Linked DNA regions of Homo sapiens: region 2 is linked to region 1. The links are contacts of gene promoters, found by promoter capture Hi-C in human tissues and cell types (Jung and others, 2019). All regions are on one chromosome and are shown on one strand. Each heading gives the region's core, a stretch centred on a gene start or on the middle of the fragment in contact. The rest is flanking DNA. Distances are from core to core; before and after follow the strand shown. Region 1 holds the start of TMEM106B (transmembrane protein 106B). Region 2 overlaps LOC105375156 (a long non-coding RNA gene).

What was found. Contacts are between HindIII fragments. The study calls those that stand out against the background at their distance.
Region 2: a contact is called between a fragment that was not itself captured here and the fragment with the promoter of TMEM106B in region 1, in 1 of the 25 tissues and cell types used here (H1 embryonic stem cells).

What each region holds. Positions count from the first base shown.
Region 1 is chr7:12,209,438-12,213,202 of GRCh38, forward strand. It overlaps TMEM106B (transmembrane protein 106B), which reads left to right and starts at 1,857. Exons shown (of 8, transcript NM_001134232.2): 1 at 1,857-1,988. RefSeq lists enhancers at 1,256-1,405, 1,539-2,057, 1,616-1,665, 2,058-2,574 and a silencer at 1,846-2,155. The HindIII fragment of the contact is 10,585 bases long and covers 1-3,765 here.
Region 2 is chr7:12,486,787-12,490,551 of GRCh38, forward strand. The region is part of intron 6 of LOC105375156 (a long non-coding RNA gene); the gene reads right to left. It also overlaps a transcript of C7orf78 not described here. Among named protein-coding and RNA genes, the nearest start is that of C7orf78, 16 kb to the right of the region's middle. The HindIII fragment of the contact is 7,072 bases long and covers 1-3,765 here.

The DNA.
Region 1 (3,765 bases), core at 607-3,106:
TGCTTCTTACAGCAACATTCTCCCAGGAAGACTTATTCCTATGTGAATTCCAGGAATTTGGATAAGGAACTGTGCTATATGGCCAGCACGTTTTAAGTTAAATGATGAGGTTGAGAAAATACTAAATACTCCCTTAAGAATTAAAGAAAAAAGTAACTTTTTCACTTAAGAATAATATATATTACATTATAGAACCATTTGCCTATTTAACAATAATAAAGAAAAAACATCCATGCTCTCAAACTACAGGCAACTGTTTATATTTTGTATATTTCTTTCCATTTCAAGGCAGATATGTAATATATTTATATCTATATGTTATCTATATGTGAATATAGTTTACATCCTATTACAATACCTCATATCCTATACTTTGCATCCTGATTTTAATTTTATATCACTCCGCGTATAACAGCCTTATAAGATGGTTTTTACTGGCTTTATAAAAACTCAATAGATGGCTATTCCATAATTTTAAAAACTCAGTAATTCCAAGGGGAACATCATATCTCCACAGGTGGACTGTCAATAATTTTGAGAAAAATTTTCCCCCATGATTCTGATTTGTTTTAACCAACCTATTAATTTTGAAATTTCAAACAGTGTTAATGGAAGACACCCTGACCCTTCCCTTTGGAAAATATGGGCTAAATAAAAGCGGTTGAAAAATAATGATTTTATCAATGTCCCTTGTTGGACATTCAGTTTATTTAAATGGATACACCTCATACCCAAATCTTTTTAGAGTTCTCATTAGGTTTAGGATACTTCTGAAAGGGTGGAATTGCTGGACCAAACGATGTGAACATTTTAATAGTCTTGATACATACTGACTGTCTGCCAGAAAACTTAGGAGTTTTAAATCTCCGACAACATTGTATGAGAAAGCTCATTATCTCACATATGGATCTACAGTAATCCTCTTAAATTGTATATCGTTCTGACTTGTATTTCCTACTTTTACATAGCTTCATTTCCCAATTCCTGTTAGAATTCCCTGATTCTAACAGGATCACACTGATCCTGTTAGAAGAGAGAAATATATGACTCTCACTTCCTTGCTCCTGTGACTGTAAGAATGCCTACCATTCATTAAACGTTAAACTCTCCGCAGGAATGAGACTAGAGTGCCCTTAATATTATTACCGGCATCTCATTGATCCCTCAAAACGACTCCTTGTCGTTGTTCTTATCTTCTAAGTGAAATGACCTAGACGTTGGGGGAGGGCAGCCCCAACCCACAGCGAAGAGCTTAAGTACTGGGATCCGAGACGGGATTTCACACACCTGTAACTAGCACCAGAGTTAAGGGGTGGGGAGGGGCAGCGTGGGCAAAGCGAAACGAAACCGAGCAAAAACAAAAACTACGGCCTTGCCGCTTGCTGTCTCCTTCTAGTTGGCCAGTTTCTAAATTAAAATAGAGGTAGCTTTGCTGCTGTCAGCGGCGTGTGTACGGACCAGTTTATTCCATTCCTAAGGACCAGACTGTCAGCGACAACTCGCATTGCGTGAGCGAGGAGGCTGCTCAGCTGAAAGCTGAGGCAGATGGTGCACATTTATACCCTTTGCAAAAGGAAATGGTCTGATATGGGAAATAGGAGGAGCGACTGTTCCTAGGTAATTCGTGGCTACAGTGGACACTTTGAAGTCTGGGGGACGCGAAGGTAATGAAACCTGAAGAGCGCACAATCTCACACGATCGACGCCTCTGGGCTCAAACAGGAGGAAGAAGGACGCATGCGTCACGCGCACGCCAGGGGTGTCCCTCCGGGAGCGCTCTGCGCAGGCGCGGACGCAGGTTACAGCAGCGCTTGGCCTCTGCTGATGCCGTCGTTATCCTACCCCTCCCCCGTCCCAGCTCTACGGCGGCCGCGCGCTCCAGGCCGGTCGCTCCACCCCCCGGCTCCCGGGACTGTGGACTCCACGACCCTGTCCTCGGCCCTGTCCGCGCCGAAGCAGCCCGGGACTGCGCAGCGCCCCGCGTGCCGGTGAGCGACCCCGGACGTGCAGTCCCCAGGTCCCCTTCCGGAGCGAGGCTGAGCGGCTGCGCCGCGGCTTGAGCCGGGCCTGACAAGGAGGGGAGGCCGCTGGGGTGCTGGGCCAGCCGCAGGTACGGCGGCGGTCAGGGCTGGTGATCGAGTTGCTGTGTCGCCTCTAATGAGGCCCAGCCAGGGAACACTCGGCTTCGGCCCAAGCCCTACCTCTGGGTTGCCTCTAGGCCCTCACACCTTGAGCGCCAGGTGGCCCTCTTCCTTTTGCTGTTGATGAATGTTCTTGCCGTGGTGCCGGGATCTTATTTTGCAGCTTTACAGAGTAGGCTTTGTGCTAGGTGTTGTTTATGGAGCTTTTCAAAGGCGCTTGTTTCCTTAGTTCTCAAGCCCTTTTAGAACTAAAACCAGTGTCTACACAGAAGATCAGGAGCCATTTAAATTGGAGTGCTGTGATATATTTTTTCTCTCCAAACTGAGTCTGATATCCATGTTGACTTTCAGTAAACTAAGGAACCGCTATAATAAATAACACTGAGCCCACAGAGGTTGCAGAAGAGGGTCTAGCACCCCTTTTTTAAACCATTGAGTCTCCCAAGAATAAAAGTGGTTACACTTGTCAGTTCTCTAAGGAAAATCTAGTAGAGAAGGCAAGGGATTCCCAGTTTCTCACAGAGTCTGGCACTTGTCCAAACACCTACCCTAAAGCAGAATCGATCATGGCAGCTATTAGATTAGGACAGAAAACAGGCTCAAACGGAGAGCCACTTGAGTCTGCCTTTCTGTGTCTTTTTTCTCAACGCGCTCCAGTTAAGATGCAGCTTACAGCCTGGCTGTGTTGACTGAGATCCCAGAAAGAGTGCCCTTAAGGCCTTGCTGATAAGGCCCAATGATCCCAATTCATCTAGTGTTCCGCATAGACCCCAAGGTTACAGTGTGTGGGGACAGTGATGTTAAGTCTTCCCTATCCTACCTGTGGCTGACAGGTGTTGATTAAGACAATGATTTTTTAGAAGTCATAAATCATTTGTATTTTTGATGTGGGCAGTGATTTTTATAAATACATAGTTTTTTTTTTTTGAAAGAGTGAAAATCTCATTTTACATTTGTTTGCATACCATTTGTATAGTTTTTTAAATTCTGTTTATTTGAGTGACAGCAACAAGTGGATGGCATGCGAATTTTATTTATTTTTTTATCTTTGTATTTATTTTGTGTATATTCATGGAGTACAAGTGCCATTTGCTACATTGATACACAACATCCTGGTGAAGTCAGAGCCCTTAGTGCATCCAGCACTGGAGCAACACACATTGTACCCACCAAGCAGGCTCCTATCAGGCATGCCAGTTCTAGAAAGTAAAATTTTCTTCATACTCTAGGATGAACTGACTTACTTGGAATGTCTGTTTTGTTTAATCAAATAAGTGAGAATTTTTGAAAGAAATACTATCTGTCTGAATGTATGTAATCTATTTTTAGGAACCGCTAAAAGACATATCAAATTTAGAAGGAGTATAATTATGTTATTTTTCAGTTTTACTTTTTCACTTTATTTTTTCTCAGGATATAAGCAGGAAAATACCAGCAGGGTGTATTATATGACTGTTAAGTTCTTTTCAGCTTTAAAAGGGTATGACCTTAAGTATAAAGTTACTTCATTATCTACCTGCAGAAGTTATTTTTGTGTAGGCACTAGTACTAATTATTTATTTCTACTTAGATTTTTACATTTGTATTGTTATTTTGATACTCTTATCCTAAAATTTTTGAAGTT
Region 2 (3,765 bases), core at 425-2,924, 280 kb after region 1:
TTTGTGGTAAGAATTAAAAGATAGTAGTGTGTAGAATAATTTCTTGAACATTTTAAGAATAAAACTACTTTTCTAATATTACAGCAAATAAACTGATAAATTATTGTCAAATCAAAATGTAATTATCAAGTATCCATAATTTTTATAATTTAATTTATACACCTCCTTTTTTTTCAGAGACTAACTTCATGAGTGCAATTTAACATATCTCTAAGAAGTATCCATTTGTGTATATGGAGATCAAAACATTTCTGCTTCTGTCATGTATTTTCTGATTAAATTTAGGTAAGTTACCTAACATCTCAAGACTAGTTTCCTATCTCTGCAACAGAGATAACTCTTTTTTCTACAAATAACAGAAAATTCAAAAAATTAAGTGAAATAATTTGGGGAATAATTTTGGCAGCTTGGAATATGAGCCTGATGATCACTGTATTTGGATTTTTCATCCACCTGATACTTAATGTTGTTATTCTAGAAACTTGGGAAGAGAAGTCAGGGATTAAATTTTACAAGTCTGTCTTTGAGATTGAAATCCATAGAGACAACCTATTAGAATACTGAAATAAACTCAAATAAAAGTAAGACTACACTGATCCTTTAGAAAAATGAAGATATGTTCACGGCCTTCAAAATGCAGTTTCTCCAGTGCCTGGCGTCTGATCTCAGCAAGGAGAGAGTAAACCAATGTGTGACCAGGGTGTCTTTTTAAACCATATAAACTCCTCCATTTATTTCCTGTGACCACATAATAACAACAAAACAGAATGTAAGTGAAATTTTGGGTTAGTTCTTTACAGAAGGCTAAAAAATATTTTGAGTGTTTTTCAAGGAATTAAACGAATCCAGCAGATTAATTTGGACCAATAAAGGATTGAGTCTTTAAAGCCAATTCTCTCTGCAAAACTTCAATAGCAAAGCCAGCGTAGCGGAAAAATTGCAAACAAAAGTATTTTCAACTGAAAATATGAAAACAGATTCAGTCTCCTTTAAGTGACCTATAAAGTACTTAGCCTCATCACTGGCATGTAGAACAAGTCAATGTACTTGTTTAAAATTTTTAAATACTTGTGCAGTTATAACCAATAAGAACCAAACAAGCAGCTCTCTAGCATGGGAAACACCAGGTCATAATATCAATATTTAAAGTATATTCCAATTTGCCAACTAATTTATAAACATTATCCCATCGTCTTAGAATCAGAAAACTCTGTTACCACATTTTTCAAAGAAAATACAAGAAACCCTCTACTGGAAGTATGCCAATTCTCAAGTATCATGTGACCATTTAGAAGAATACATATTGATTGGAAGGTGACTAAGCTGAAATTTAGTTTAGTGAATTATAAATATTCAGTGCCCCTGATAGATATTATGTTTCTTTAAAAAGAAATATGTTATTTTCATAAAACTTTCAAACATTGCTTAATTTGAAAACCATCTATCTTCATTTGGCCACTGCCTTTCCCAAATCTCTAACAAGACTATGAATTAGTAACTTCAAGACAGTACAACTCACCATTAAATTTCCTATATCTGAGAAAGAGCTCTTCATTAAAACTCTGCTTCCAAAATGAGATTCAATCATGGCAAATGCAAAACAGTCCACATATGACAGGAAAATCACAAATGCAAATACAAACTAACTAAATTGTAGCTTACTGTCAATTATACTTTTAGAATAGTTATTGGAAAAGTCAAGCTTTTTCTTCAATTAAATGATGTATATAGGGAGCCAAATGAGAGCCTGAATCCAGGATTTCAGAATGAAACAAGTTCTAGATAAATTCAAATCTCATTGCAGAATCATTTAGCCAACAGCCCATATGGCCAGCTGCACCTTTATGAATGTGACAAAGGCAGAGTGGTTTGAAACAGCTCAGCAAAAAAAAAATATAAAGCCCTTGGACATTCAATGAGGATAAATTATAGCTTATAAATTATGTATTTATCTAAGAAGTGAAATTCAAAAAGAATTGCTTAAAAGTTATATTCATACCATATATGCATTCTGAGGTAGCTGTTGTAAGAAAGTGCAATTTTAACAATGAAATGTTTCTTGTAAAGTATTATTTTCAGAGAAATTAATCTTAATTAAATCAATATGTGTGGAGGGGGTTTGATTGGTTTTTTTTTTTTTGGTTTTTTGCTTTGGCTAAGAAGAGTTTCCGTATATTTGACTACCTTTTATTGCCCTAGTTTGCCCTGGAAATTTGAAAGAAAAGACCATAGAAAAGGAATACCCAAATGCTGGCTATTATGGTGAAGATATTTGCAATATAAAAGAATTCTTATTGTTGCACTAGAATAAGAAGTATTGGGGCATATTAAAATATCATTTTCATAATGGCTTGTAACAGTATAGACAAAAAGCAAGGGACATCTGTCATGAAAAAGATTACCCCAATAGTCAGTATACATTTCAAGATTTTTAGTCACATTACATCATTATTAATAATTTGGCATGTATATATCATCTGGATGGTTATTTATATGCATTGTTTCCCCTCATTTGCTCAAGTGTCTTTAACTCAGCAAGTTTATTTAATGAAACACATTCATAATAAAACATTAACGGAAACAGAATTTTTGAAAAACGGAAAACTGAGATTGATTGAACTTTTATTTTAACTAAGAAGCAGAATTCCGTATAGGTCTACAGTATTTGAAAACTCAGTAGATCCTTTTAAATGTAAACACTTAATATATATAACTAATCTCAGAGAGGTAACTTAGGACATTAAGTTATAAACTATGCAGATCGCACTTATTTTTCATTCACCTCATAGTCATGATACTGGTCTAGGGCTTGGATTGGAGCCGAAGTTTCTTCACCTGTATCTAGAAGCGGGAATGCCTTCAGGAGGCTAGAGGGCAAGACAAATACTATTTGCTGGGCAAAGTCAGGGTTTATTAAGAAGAAAAGCCAAGACAAAAAACCACAGGCAAAATTGCTATGTAGGACATAAAACTAGAATTTTAGAAGAGATATGGATAGGACCAATATTGCTGCATTTTGGACAGCAGTGATGTGTAGAAGATGGGTGGGGAAGTAATGAAGCTGGCAGGAGAAAGTGACAGGTGGCATCGACATTTGCTTTCAATAGCTAGTGGATGTACATTTCATGGAAGACCCTGAGGGGATCTCTAAAAGCCATGATTGGTGTAAACAGTGGGTAGTAAGTCCAGTTCTTTCATTTTTGAAATTTTCCATACTATCACAATCTTATATTTAGCCTTTTTTTGAAAATATTTCTATATAGAATGGTTATTTTCTTGCTGTGGTAAGCACAATATGAGGACAGATATTTAATAATATTAATAGCTAACATTTTTTGAGTGGTTAGTATCACCCAACCAGGAACTTAGCACTTTGAGCACCATATCTTATTCTACAAAGTAGTGGTCTATTTACATTTTACTTCTGATGTAACTGAAGTTCAGCAAGGTTGTATTATTACCTGCTTGTAATCATAATAGAGGGATGATGCTCACTTTAACATGATAATTATGCCCTCTGCTGGTAGTTAATAGCTTTTACATCATCTACTTTTTGAAATGATGCTTGTAAACAAGAGCCCAGGACGATGTCATCATGTGAATTAATTATGCACTACTTTTATAACTCTGGTTTGCTATTCATAAGGTCAACATTGTATCAAGAAGGCCATGAAAACAGGATATATTTCAGGGGAAGGAAGATTTTTATTAAAAAGTTATATTCCAGGAACTGATTTTCAAGTCTGGAAAGGAAATTGCCTTTAG